Regions from separate parts of the Homo sapiens genome. Here regions 2 and 3 are each linked to region 1. Evidence: promoter capture Hi-C in human tissues and cell types (Jung and others, 2019). All regions are on one chromosome and are shown on one strand. The core of a region is centred on a gene start or on the middle of the fragment in contact, and the rest is flanking DNA. Distances in the headings are between cores, read along the strand shown. Region 1 holds the start of SBNO1 (strawberry notch homolog 1). Region 2 overlaps CCDC62 (coiled-coil domain containing 62). Region 3 overlaps RSRC2 (arginine and serine rich coiled-coil 2).

Evidence for each region. The method cuts DNA at HindIII sites, captures the fragments that hold promoters and counts their contacts. A contact is called where the count stands out against the background at its distance.
Region 2: a contact is called between a fragment that was not itself captured here and the fragment with the promoter of SBNO1 in region 1, in 1 of the 25 tissues and cell types used here (dorsolateral prefrontal cortex).
Region 3: a fragment that was not itself captured here is called in contact with the fragment with the promoter of SBNO1 in region 1 in 1 of the 25 tissues and cell types used here (dorsolateral prefrontal cortex).

Annotation. Positions count from the first base shown.
Region 1 is chr12:123,363,353-123,367,480 of GRCh38, reverse strand. SBNO1 (strawberry notch homolog 1) reads left to right here and starts at 2,634. Exons shown (of 32, transcript NM_001167856.3): 1 at 2,634-2,780. It overlaps MIR8072 (microRNA 8072), which reads left to right and starts at 2,638; the gene lies at 2,638-2,717. SBNO1-AS1 (SBNO1 antisense RNA 1) reads right to left here and starts at 2,533. Exons shown (of 2, transcript NR_157806.1): 1 at 2,366-2,533; 2 at 1,677-1,956. RefSeq lists enhancers at 1,874-2,083, 3,544-3,593, 3,250-3,968 and silencers at 2,254-2,353, 2,484-2,723, 2,834-2,913, 2,954-3,063. The HindIII fragment of the contact is 18,176 bases long and covers 1-4,128 here.
Region 2 is chr12:122,827,119-122,831,435 of GRCh38, reverse strand. CCDC62 (coiled-coil domain containing 62) reads right to left here. Exons shown (of 13, transcript NM_201435.5): 13 at 3,908-4,317. Among named protein-coding and RNA genes, the nearest start is that of HIP1R, 6.2 kb to the left of the region's middle. RefSeq lists a silencer at 1,548-1,748. The HindIII fragment of the contact is 4,270 bases long and covers 1-3,409 here.
Region 3 is chr12:122,519,793-122,524,333 of GRCh38, reverse strand. RSRC2 (arginine and serine rich coiled-coil 2) reads left to right here. Exons shown (of 10, transcript NM_023012.6): 2 at 2,035-2,191; 3 at 2,906-2,949. Among named protein-coding and RNA genes, the nearest start is that of RSRC2, 4.9 kb to the left of the region's middle. The HindIII fragment of the contact is 5,664 bases long and covers 1-4,131 here.

The DNA of each region.
Region 1 (4,128 bases), core at 1,385-3,884:
GCTGAGACAGGAGAATTGCTTGAACCTGGGAAGCAGAGGCTGCAGTGAGCCGAGATCGCACCGCTGCACTCCAGCCTGGGTGAGATAAAGCAAGACCCCGTCTCAATAAATAAATAAATAAATAAATAAATAAATAAATAAATAAGGCCCGACGCAGTGGCTCACGCATGTAATCCCAGCACTTTGGGAGGCTGAGGCGGGCATATCACCTGAGGTCAGGAGTTCGAGACCAGCCTGGCTAACATGGTGAAACGCCGTTTCTACTAAAAATACAAAAAATTAGCCGGGCGTGGTGGTGGGCACCTGTAATCCCAGCTACTCAGGAGGCTGAGGCAGGAGAATCACTTGAACCCAGGAGGCGGAGGTTGCAGTGAGCTGAGATCCCGCCATTGCAACAAACTAGCTTGGGCAACAAGAGTGAAACTATGTCTCAAAAAAAAAAAAAATTAAAAAAATAGTTTCGCTTTGTTACCCAGGCTGGTGCAGTGGCACGATTATAGCTCACTGTAGCCTCAAACTTCTGGGCAATCAAGTGATTCTCCTACCTTAGCCTCCTGAGTAGCTGGGACTATATATCACACTTGGCTAATTAAAAGTTTTTTGTTGGGCCGGGCGCGGTGGCTCACGCCTGTAATCCCAGCACTTTGGGAGGCCGAGATGGGTGGATCACGAGGTCAGGAGATCGAGACCACGGTGAAACCCCGTCTCCACTAAAAATACAAAAAAAAAAAAAAAAAAGTCCTAGCTACTCGGGAGGCTGAGGCAGGACAATGGCGTGAACCCAGGAGGCAGAGGTTGCAGTGAGCCGAGATCGCGCTACTGCACTCCAGCCTGGGCGACCGACAGAGCGAGACCCCGTCTCAAAAAGAAAAATGTTTTTTTGTCGAGATGAGGTTGCACTTTGTTACCCAAGTCTGGTCTCAAACTCCTGGCTGAGATCCCCGTTTCAGCCTCCCAAAGTGTTGGGATTACAGGCGTGAGCCACCACACCTGGCCTGTGCCTAAGGTTTTTTTTGTTTTTTGTTTTTGAGTCGGATTCTCGCTCTGTCGCCCAGGCTGCAGTGCAATGGCACGATCTCGGCTCACTGCAACCTCCGTCTCTTGAGTTCAAGCGATTCTCCTGCCTCAGCCTCCAGAGTAGCTGGGATTACAGGTGCCCGCCACCAAGCCCCAGCTAAATTTTGTATTTTTAGCAGAGATGGGGTTTCACCATGTTGGCCAGGCTGGTCTCGAACTCCTGACCTCAGGTGGTCCGCCCACCTCGGCCTCCCGAAGTGCTGGGATTACAGGCGTGAGCCACTGCGCCCGGCCTAAAATATTTTTTATTTTTGTCTTTATAGGTTTTTTTTCTATGTGTGTGAGAGGATTAAATGAAATAATGTAATTAGTAAAGCGATTAGTTAGCACTTTAAAAATATTTATAAATGTATACATAGATATATAATACATATCTATGTGTACAAACACTGAAGTTTCCTATTCTTTCTGTGCCTACTTTTTCCTTTCTTTCCCCGAATACTTTGTCTCTGGAAGAGTTCACACTGTAACCTCCAACTGTTCCAGCTACTTGGTTTGCTTTCAGCACTAGGCTTGTAGGATGCGCAGCCAGTAGGGGGCAAGAATCACCCAGGCGTGCTTATTACCCAAGCAACGGAGTCAAACAGCACTTTCAGAATGACTTTACAAAAGGGTTACCAACAAGGTAATATGTTTATTGTGTTAGGTCGCTTAATAATAACGAAAAGATGAAAACAAGGAAGTGAGAAGCGGTAGGGACAGCCCTACTCTTCAGTATTCATTAAGTGGGAGCCCCGGTGTGTCGGGCTTGCGTATGAGCGTGAAGACAGACGTGGGATGGCTGAGCTCACACGCCTTAGGCTCTGATTCTAGCCGTGGTCGCGCCGAGGGCTCCGGGTTACTTGCGGTTTCACTGCCAATAAAGTGCTTTGAGCGAGCCTAACAAGCAATGAATATGTAAACATTTTGTTTCTAGGACTAACTAGGTAATGAAGAGATCTTCCAAGTGACAGAAACGCTGCTAGGTAACTTCCTGGGCCGTAGCTCCCCACCCTAACAGGTTCTGAAAATAGCTCCAGGCCCTTCCTAACCGGAGTTTGAAAGCAGGCGCGGGGCGCATGCGCGCGGCCCTCCGGCCGACCTCCCGATAGCCCTGGCACGCGGACCTTCTTCCCGACAGGCCGCGGGGAAAAAAGGGCGGGGAAACGGAATTACCGCGAGCTCTCCGTGAGCGCCGGCGGAAACAGTAGTCACGTGACTCTCCTAGGTGGCCTTCGCCTTCCCCCTCCCCCTTCGCGGAAACCCGGCCCCCTCACCCCTCGCCCACCCCAGAGCCGCGGTAATGGACCGTTTGGGTTCCGGAATTCTCTTGGATCCAACAACTGGTACCGGGCCGAGGATAGCCGGCGGAGTCCGTTTTTGGCGGCGAAGACTGGGGGGTGGTCAAGATGGGGGGGAAATCATCTTCCTTCACCTAGGAGGGAGGCGGGGCGGAGAGGGGCGCAGAGAGGCGGGTGGGGGAGGAGGGAGGAAGTCACGTGAGGGCGCTGCGTGCGCGCGGCGCCTCATCCGTTGCCCCTCCCCCGCCCCTCCCGGCGGGGCGGGGGGGCTGGGGGAGGGGCGTCAAGATGGCGGCGGGGAGGTAGGCAGAGCAGGACGCCGCTGCTGCCGCCGCCACCGCCGCCTCCGCTCCAGTCGCCTCTGGTCCTTCAAACTCACACCTCCCGGGAGGAGCTGTGCTGGCGCCGGGTCCCGCGGGGAAAGTAAGTCCTTCCCTTGGCCCTTTTCTCCTTCCACACTCCCCCTCCCGGACAGCCTCCCACTCCCACCCTCGGGGGGCCGTGCGGGGCCAGGCTGGGGGGACAGCCACCTCGCCCCGGCTTGGGGCCTCCCTCGCCGCTTGCCGCTCCTCGCGGCCGCGCGCTCCGGGGCCCTCGGGGGCATGTTCCCGACGGCGGCTCCGTTGTACTCGCTTCCTCTGTTCGTCAGCGCCGGGCCCCGCTGTCGCCGCTCGTGGGGCTTTCGGGCTCCGGGAGCCCCGCTGTCCCGGGCCGGAGGCACCCCTCTTGGACCGCGGGGCAGGGTCTGTGCACGCCGGCTCCGCTGGGTTCGCCCCTTTGGCTTCCGCCTCACAACCCGGGGGCTGCGGGTCCGGGACCCGCGGGGAAAGTAAGGACCGGATCCTTCCCAAGTCCTCTTTCGTGCCCCAGCATTGCTCCCGGCTCTGGGCGAGGGAGGGAGGCAGGCGACGCGGTCGTCCTTCCTAAATCTGAACCCCACAGCGCGGTCTCGTACATGCCCCGCTCTTGGGGCGGTGGGGAAGCCGCGGGGGACACGTGCAGGCTCCCTTCACGCCTCTCCAGGCGACTCGCTTAGTTCTGCCTCGGCGGGCGAGCTCACCTCCCAGACCCTAAGAATTACCCATGGAGGGGAACGGCAGTTGGGGATTTGCTTACTTTGAGAGCGTTTGGCATAACGAGCATCCAGAGTTCCCCAAAGCAGTGGATACCGGTGGTTTCCCAGAAGTGGTTTGGGGTCGGTTTAACCGCTGAGGAGATTTGGATGTTCCTAAACCCTTCTGATTGTTTCTTTCCTGACCCTGGCATCCAGCTCCTCCCCTTCCCACCCCTGCTTTGTGCTTCTGTTTGGTTAATGTTTGCGGACCACTAACTTGATCCTCGCACAGAGAAGCTCTTTTTATGTGCGTGCTCGGTTTACTGTGGGAGGCTTTTGTTTTGGGGAGTCGCTGGTTGAGAAACGTGGGAAAAGAACGGGCCAGAAAATGAGAGACAAATAAAGCAACGTTTTTATCCATTGAATTGCGCAGCCAATTGTAAGTGCACCCGGAAGTTTGTACTGAACACGTGTTGAGGGAAGGTTATAAACTGGTCCCCTTTGACCTTTGAAAGTTGGCTATTATCATTTTATGTTGAGTTAAATGTTTCATATATTCTAGACAGCCAGAATTAGGGATGGAATATGGTTTCTAAAGAGTCATCCAGAAGGGTGCAGAGAACTGTCATCCGGAGTGCCCTAGCAGGAATTGACTTAACACTTTCAGATAATTCTGCGAGCTGACAGTACAGAGGGATTCTATTTTCCACCATATTT
Region 2 (4,317 bases), core at 25-2,524, 530 kb after region 1:
GCACCACCATGCCTGGCTAATTTTTAAATTTTTTGTAGAGACGGGGGTCTCACCACGTTGCCCAGACTGGTCTTGAACTCCTGGACTCAAGCAATCCTCCCACCTTAGCCTCCCAAAGTGCTGGCATTACAGGCAGGAGCCACTGCTCCCGGCCTGAGATTCTTCATGCCATCAGAATCAGGGTTCTGTTTTGGTGTATCTCGAGGGCTGTTGAATTCCTGCTCACCCCTATTACAAAAGCAAAGCAATTGGAATACAAATAAGACCTCGTTTTAAGGAAAATCCAAGATGCACAGGAGAGTTTACATCATCTGGCCCACTAAAACATGGTATGCTACCACACCCACACTGACTCATCGACTCGTATGCATGATCTGGCCCCAGCCTCTGTCCCTGGCTTCATCTTGCACCATCCTGGCCCATCAGGTCCCAGATGCGTCATGTTCCCTCCCACCTCAGAGCCTTTGCACATGCTGTTCCTACTGCCTGGAATTCTCTTCTGCTTCCCGTTCGCCCTACTTAGCATCCACTTGTCTTTAACTCTTGGCTCAGATGTCACTTCTTTAAGGAAGCATTCTCTTAACACTCCACCCTTCACCTGAGTCCCTATTATAAGCTGTCATCATATCTCAAAGCTTTCTTTTGTAGCACTAACCAGTCTCTTGTGAACTATGTATGGGATTCTTAGATTAGTGTGTTTCTACGACTAGATTGTCTGCTTTGCTCATTGTTGTGTCTCCAGTGGCCAGCAAAGCACCTACTGTGTGCTCAAAATTCTTTGATTTTTTGTTGGGTTTCTTTTTGTTGTTGTTGTGGTTGGGTTTCTTAAGCATGCATCTGGCTGAGAACCCAGACATCATCCTTTAAAGAACTGATTCATGTACACTTTTCATTCAATCAACTTCTCTCAAAGACCATTCTGGGTGTTTTTTGTTTGTTTGTTTGTTTGTTTGAGACAGAGTCTGGCTCTGTTGCCCAGGCTGGAGGCATGGCTCAATCTCAGCACACTGCAACCTCTGCCTCCCAGGTTGAAGTGATTCTTGTGCCTCAGCCTCCTGAGTAGCTGGGATTACAGGCACCCACCACCACGCCCAGCTAATTTTTGTATTTTTAGTAGAGAGGTGTTTCGCCATGTTGGCCAGGCTGGTCTCGAACTCCTGATCTCAAATGATGTGCGAGCTTTGGCCTCTCTAAGTGCTGGGATTACACGCGTGGGCCACTGCACCTGGCCCCATTCTGGTTTTTAAACCTCCTTGTCAGCTGCAGTCTTGATGAATGTGTCTGGTTTCTTATTTTGATCCTGTTCACTCTGTTCTCTATCACACTGGAGGTTGCTAAGATTATTCTGTTGAAGGCCTAGAATAATGAACTTTCCTGCAATGTGTCCTAACAAAATCATCATCAAATGGCTCAAGAGAAACAAAAGTACAACACTGCAAACCCACCACCCCAGCTACAGGTGTCAAACCACACAAAGCCACAGGAGAAAACTCCAGGATCAGTTTGCCAGACCATAACAAGGATTCAGTCTTCAGTCTCCTTCCTGGAAGGTATGGAGCCAACCTTATCCCACACAGCCAAGAAGTTCTAGACGCATTCTCTTGGCACTTTTGGGGTAAAGCTGCTTTTAGTGTTTATGTTTTATCTTAATTCAGAACTTTTTTTCTTTGGGGGTATTTCTATTTCTGTTTTTAAATATCTGTTGGCCGGGCGCGGGGGCTCACACCTGTAACCCCAGCACTTTGGGAGGCTGAGGTGGGCGGATCACCTGAGGTCAGGAGTTCGAGACCAGCCTGGCCAACATGGTGAAACCCCGTCTCTACTAAAAATACAAAAATTAGCCTGGCATGGTGGCAGGTGCCTGTAATCCCAGCTATTCGGGAGGCAGAAGAATCTCTTGAATCTGGGAGATGGAGGTTGCAGTGAGCTGACATCGTGCCACCGCACTTCAGCCTGGGTGACAGAGTGAGACTCCATCTAAAGAAAAAAAAATTAGGCATGGTGGCACGTGCCTGGAGTCCTCGCTAATTGGGAGGCTGAAGCAGGAGAATCACTTGAGCCCAAGAGTTTGAGGCTACAGTGAGCTATGATGATACCACTGCCCTCCAGGCTGGGTGACAGAGTGAGACCCTGTCACTAAAAATAAAATTAAAAAAAAAATCCATTCACAGATTCTAAAAATACCCTTATATCAGTCTTTTCCAATGCTGAGATTACTTCTGGCAGGCAGATTGTAGTATAATTCATTTGCCTCCTCTTCAGATGTGTTGATCTTAAGAATGTTGCTGATAAGACATAAATGCTAAAATCTAGTTTTATCTTGTAACTATTTCAAATACTCTATGAGACTGCCTCTGTGCATCCATTAAAGTATAGAAAAAAAAAGGAGACTGCCTCTCTAACAGAAATTGCTCAAAGCTTAGGTCAGGGGTATCTGCACTCCACGTTCACTGCAGCACTGCTCACAACAGCCAAGATGTGGAAGCAACCTAAATGCCCATCAACAGATGAGTGGATAAAGAAATGTGGTGGCTCACGCCTGTAATCCCAGCACTTTGGGAGGCTGAGTTGGGAGGATCACATTAGGCCAGGAGTTCAACACCAGCCTGGCCAACATGACGAAACCCCGTCTCTACTAAAAAAACAAAAAGTTAGCCAGGAGTGGTGGTGGGCACCTGTAATCCTAGCTTCTCAGGAGACTGAGGCAGGAGAATTGCTTGAACTCGGGAGGTGGAGGTTGCAGTGAGCTGGAATTGAGCCACTGCACTCCAGCCTGGGCAACAGAGTGAGACTCGGTCTCAAAAAAAAAAAAGTAGTATATATATACATAATGGAATACTATTTAGCCATAAAAACAAACGAAATCCTGTCATTTAAATGACTCAGTTTGGGCCAGGTGCAGTGGCTTACATCTGTAATCCCAGCACTTTGGGAGGCCGAGAAGGTGGATCACAAGGTCAGAAGTTCAAGACCAGCCTTGCCAATATGGTGAAACCCCGTCTCTACTAAAAATACAAAATTTAGCTGGGCATGGTGGCGCACACCTGTAGTCCCAGCTACTCGGGAGGCTGAGGCAGGAGAATCACTTGAACCTGAAAGGCGGAGGTTGCAGTGAGCTGAGATCACGCCACTGCACTCCAGCCTGGGCGACAGAGAGAGACTCTGTCTCAAAAAAATAAATAAATAAATAAATAAATAAATAAATAACTTCGGTTGAGCTAGATGCATTGCTAACATTAAATTTCTCATTCTTTTTTTTTTTTTTTTTTTTTTTTTGAGACGGGACCTCACTCTGTCACCCAAGCTGGAGTGCAGTGGTACGATCTTGGCTCATTGCAACCTCCACCTCCTGGGTTCAAGCAATTCTCCTGCCTCAGCCTCCCAAGTAGCTGGGATTACAGGCGCGTGACACCATGCCCAGCTAATTTTTTGTATTTTTAGTAGAGAGGGGGTTTTGTCATGTTGGCCAGGCTGGTCTCGAACCTCTGATCTCAAGTGATCCACCTGCCTTAGGCTCCCAAAGTGCTGGAATTACAGGCATAAGCCGCCACACCCAGCTGAAATTTCTCATTGTTGGATTGCATATGGAACGATAAGCTGGTGGGATACAATAGGTGTCAGGTGTCGTAGGTACTATAATCCTATGAGCTAAAATACATTTAGCCATAAAATAATGTTTAATTGTTATCAAATCCTTTAGTTCCCTGACATGTTCCTATTTAGCATCTATTCAGTGTTGCCTTTTCACTAGGCAAGTTGATGTGCAGTCATGAACATGAAAAGGAGGAGAAAATTTAATATTTTGATTCTTAGATAGGAAGTCACGCTCCCCAAGGGTCATTTTAGGTTTCTACTTGGCAGGCAGCAGCTCAGAAGCAACTATACCTTTCTCCGTTTTGCTCTAGACAGCCCAGCCTGAGGGAGAAAGCACGCATTGATAAAGAACATAACCAAACCTCACCCAACTTCTCTTTTCAGCACCCTAATTAAAAAGGCTAAATGAGGTGGCTCTTCCCCGCTCATGAAAATCATCTCTGAAGTAACACTGAGACCTGTTAACAAAGGGGCATTTATTCAGCACAATAGAACTTTGATATCTGCAATGCTTAAAAAAATACATCCCCATTCCTGAGGAAATTAACTTGCCAGGTTCAGTTTAAAGTGATGAACGTTCCTTCCTTATTTTACTCCTGTAAAATAAAAAGAAACCAAGGAAACATATTTTTTCTTTAATATTAAAAATATCTTTTATGGACTGAAGTTGATCTATTCTTTTAGAGAAGACACAGAGGCATATAGTATAATCTTTAAAAAATT
Region 3 (4,541 bases), core at 50-2,549, 840 kb after region 1:
TTACCAAGTGTAAGCTGTACAAACACTCAGCAAGTAATAAATGAGTCTGAAATAGTCCTCAAGGATAACGATGAAAAAAAAAAGTGTCCAGAATTCATTGTGAAAAATCAGAATCATCCTTAATGATACAGCATTATTTATTAGTAGTAAACAGTAAAGATACGGAGATGCAGTATCATTTTAAGCAAGTCAGCTAATGTTGCTGGATCTCATCTGTGAAACGAGAAAGTTGAACTCTATTCTAAGGGGTGAAAACCTTTCAGCATAAAAATTTTATGGTTCCAGAAGTCACCCAGACTGGAGAAATAAGTACATATACAATATGCTGGCATGAGAGCCTCCCTGGTAGTTAATTTCTTACTGTTCTTTTTGTGCCATTGTTAGAGGAATAACACGTAATTTATGTCTTTCATCTCATAATTGAACTGCAAAACCTTTCTGTTTTTAATTTATCATTTTATTCCCTAAGTCTAGCATTGGTTTTGGCACATTTTTGACCCTTAGTAAATACTTGTTGAAGTAACTCGACCTCTCACAACTTCATTTATTAAAGTACAATACACCCATTTATTGTACTTGATACTTGTTTAAAATTTGTTAAAATACAATACCCCCATTTATTGTACTTGATATTTGGTATTCATTTTCTGGACTAACTTTCCTAAAGGAGGAAGTTCTCTAATGTGATTCCTCCTGCTGAAGACTATCGATTCCCTATTTATTCAATCCAGATTCCGTTTGATGTTATACGTGAAAAGTCCATAAACTGTTTCTGTAAAGGGCCAGACGGTAAATATTTTTGGCTTTGTGGGCCATGTGCAGTCTCTGTCACATTCTTTCCCAGGCTGGAGGGGCAGTGGCGCAATCTTAGCTCACTTCAACGTCTGCCTCATGGGTTCAAGCCATTCTCCTGTCTCAACCTCCTGAGTTGCTGGGATTACAGGCACGCCCCACCACTCTTGGCTAATTTTTGTGTTTTTAGTAGAAGCAGGGTTTTACCATGTTGGCTAGGCTGGTCTCAAACTCCTGACCTCAGGTTATCCGCCTGCCTCAACCTCCCAAAGTGCTAGGATTACAGGCATGAGCCACAACACTGGCGTTTTAAGTGCCTTTAGTTTTAACAGTTCAGTCTTTACAGTGCTATTTACTGAAGTTATTTATTAAATATGCCTAAAATAGTTTTAAAAAACGTAAAAAACCATTCCTAGCTCAAGGCCATACAGAAACAGAATGAGGACCATAGCTTGCCAACCCTTCCTAAGTAATCAATTCCCCAGGTGTATCAATTATTTTATTTTCATGTTATCTTCTCTGGTCAGATAGCCGAGCATTGTCTACCTTCTGCATTAGTTGAAACTTGTAAAATTTATATTGTAATAATTACTTATAAAATGCTTTAAAGCAGAAACAACTTAATGTTTTCATAGCCCAGAGCACATGTGAGGAGAGGCAGACCATATTTTGCAGCAGCACTGTGCCAAGGGGCTGTTTTCATTAAAGAGGGTTAATGACATTAAGATGAGGTTCTCACTTAGGTAAGTTAATTTTCTGTTTATTATTTTATAATATTCTTAGGGCATTGTTTTAAGATTTTATCGTCTTGAGTATCTTTAAGCTTTAACAACTCATTTTTGATGTTTGACATGTATGCTAATTTAAAAGTATTGGTAAAGTCAGCTAAATGCATTCACACATCTAAAAAGGACTATTTTCTCTGCTTGAATGCTTATTAGAACTACTTGGAGCCCTTATTCCTCCCCCACCCCACCCCATGTTTTAAAAGTTATACAAATCATCGTTAGAAAATTAAAGATACATCAGTCTAAATATGTAGGTCTTGCTTTAGTATCAGGTTCGTCATTTCAAGCCATTCAGCCTTATTAGTGTACAAAGCACATTTAGTTACTTGGAAAGCAGGCATTCTGATTTATTGATTGTGGGGGGCTATCTTCCCTCCCTTTGTCCCTCTTTTAAGAAATTGAAAACATTTAAAATGTAATTAAGAACTTTAATCATTTGTTTTTAAACTTTTAGGCTAGTGATACAGAGCGAGATGGACTAGCCCCAGAAAAGACATCACCAGATAGAGATAAGAAAAAAGAGCAGTCAGAAGTATCTGTTTCTCCTAGAGCTTCAAAACATCATTATTCAAGATCACGATCAAGGTCAAGAGAAAGAAAACGAAAGTCAGGTATGAATTCTTAAAGGTGGTTACAACTCTCAGCATTTGTATAAGATATGTAGACCTGTTGTATAAGAAGACACATACATTTAGTTTGTTGGCTGGGCATGGTGGCTCAAGCCTGTAATGCCAGCACTTTGGGAGGCCAAGGCAGGCAGATCACCTGAGCCAGGACCAAAAATACAAAAATTGACACACTCTCAGCCCAATGCAACCTCCATCTGCTGGGTTCAGGCAGTTCTTCTGCCTCAGCCTCCTGAGTAGCTGGGATTATAGGCGTGCGCCACCACGCCTAGCTTATTTTTGTATTTTTAGTAGAGACTGGGTTTCACCATGTTGGAACATATCAAATATAATTCAACCTGTTTATTTTCTTTAGTTTTTATTTTTCTTAATGGCTTACCTCTCTCTATTAAACCCCCTTATGAATTTGCTGTAGACTAGGAAACTAGATGGGCTGGTCAGAATATATGTAAAATACTGAAAGTCTATGACCGTTTAAAAGATGTATCTAGGCTGCTTTATGTCCTGGTTTGCTCAGATTGCTTGATTTGTTTCACATGTGTGTTGTATTAATGTAGAATAATCCCACCCGTGCCATGAAAAAATTAGTCATTGGAAGAAGACTAATGGGAGTCATTTTTCTCCAGCATTAAGAGTTTTTTAAGATGAAATGTTTCTCCAACTTTGTTTATGGTGATTATTTTTTTTGTGTATTCACAGATAATGAAGGAAGAAAACACAGGAGCCGGAGCAGAAGCAAAGAGGTAATTAACACTTTGTAGTGAATAGGTACTTTAAAATACTTATAAAGTGTCTGGTAGAAAGATTTGTATGAATATAAGACGTTGTCAAGGTAAGTACAAAACTTGAAATTTAAAAGGTTTATTGGGTTATAAAATAAGCATGATTTTGATTCATCATTTTTGAAGAAGATGTTTATGTGAAAAGTACCTTCAAAACTTTAATTTTATTATATTGTGAAAATATTCACAATAAAAATTTCATATGAAGAATATGATTGGTTTTTTTAGGCCTGTCACACAGAGCTTCCATTAATCTGAGGTCCCGAGTCTCCTGGTGCCTGACAGTTGCTCAGGATTTTTAAACAGCAATCATCTTTACATAGCAATACCCTAGATATCTGTGCGCTGCTTTTTCCTTATGAACGATAACAGGAGTTCTCTTTTCTTTTGCAAACTAGTTCAGTTTCCCTAATAGTAGTATTGAATTTTGAAATAAAGGTTTGAGTGAGGGACAGCTGAAAAGGTGGCGGTGACACCAAAACTTGAGGAAAAAGAAAGGCAGCAGCTGTATTGCAAAGGAGTTACTTGTTCACCCACCTGAGAAGACAAAGAATGAGCCAATAAGGAAGTGTAGAAGTAGTAGCCAGAAAGGGAGAAGAGTCTTGTGGGGGCTGGGTAAGGGACTCCTAAAACAAGAGTGGGCAGGGACTTCACCTCTTCCCGTAATGGAAGCTCTGTTAAATTTTTAATTTAGGAGAGTTTTTGTGAAAATGACTATTTTGTTTAGCTCACATGATAACATTTCTATAATAAATCATACTCAGCGTGCTTATGCGCGAAGAGACTGAACTGAAGACGCTGCAGACTCAGATAGCAAAATAATAAGCCTACTTCATGATAAGGTAACTATTAGTCATTCAAACTCCTATTTCCCTTAAATATATCTTAAATCAGTTAAGGGTTTTAATGTTTTTTTTAAATTAATAGTAATGTTATGTTTGAAAAACTGGTTTGAAATAAACTTTAAAACCTTTAGAAGTTTAACCACTTAAGACTTTTCCAGTCTGCCTCGTTATAGCAAAACCAAGGAAAATTTCTTTTCTAAGCTCCTATAGAGAACTGGCAATGAAACTAAAATTTAATTGTGTCTCCAGGTCTCTTATTTTTCTGCAAATAATAAATTATGTACTATGATCATTTTCAGATAAATCATCATGCATGTTCCAAAATGATTGGCCAAGTTTTATTTTTAAGAAACATTAATCGTGAGTGGAAAGAAACATGCTATGGCCTTTTGGGAGACAGTAGTGTCTTATTACAGTGGAAAAGTGGTAGCGTGGGCATCAGAAAAACATGGGGAAGGTTCAGCTCACCCATGTAGCTTTGTAACTTTAGATCTTAGTTATACATAAAATAAGGGGATTAAGTTAGAGGATCTTAGTTTCCTTCCAGAATTAAAATTTAGTGATTCAGAGATGTCTAGGATTTTAAACTTTCACTACAAGATGAATTTGACAGATCTTCCTGTAGGGAACTGTAGTATGTAGCACTTCTACTTTGGTATTTGGTAGGATGAGACTTGATCATGCAGTTAATTTGAGCTGAGTCTCTGA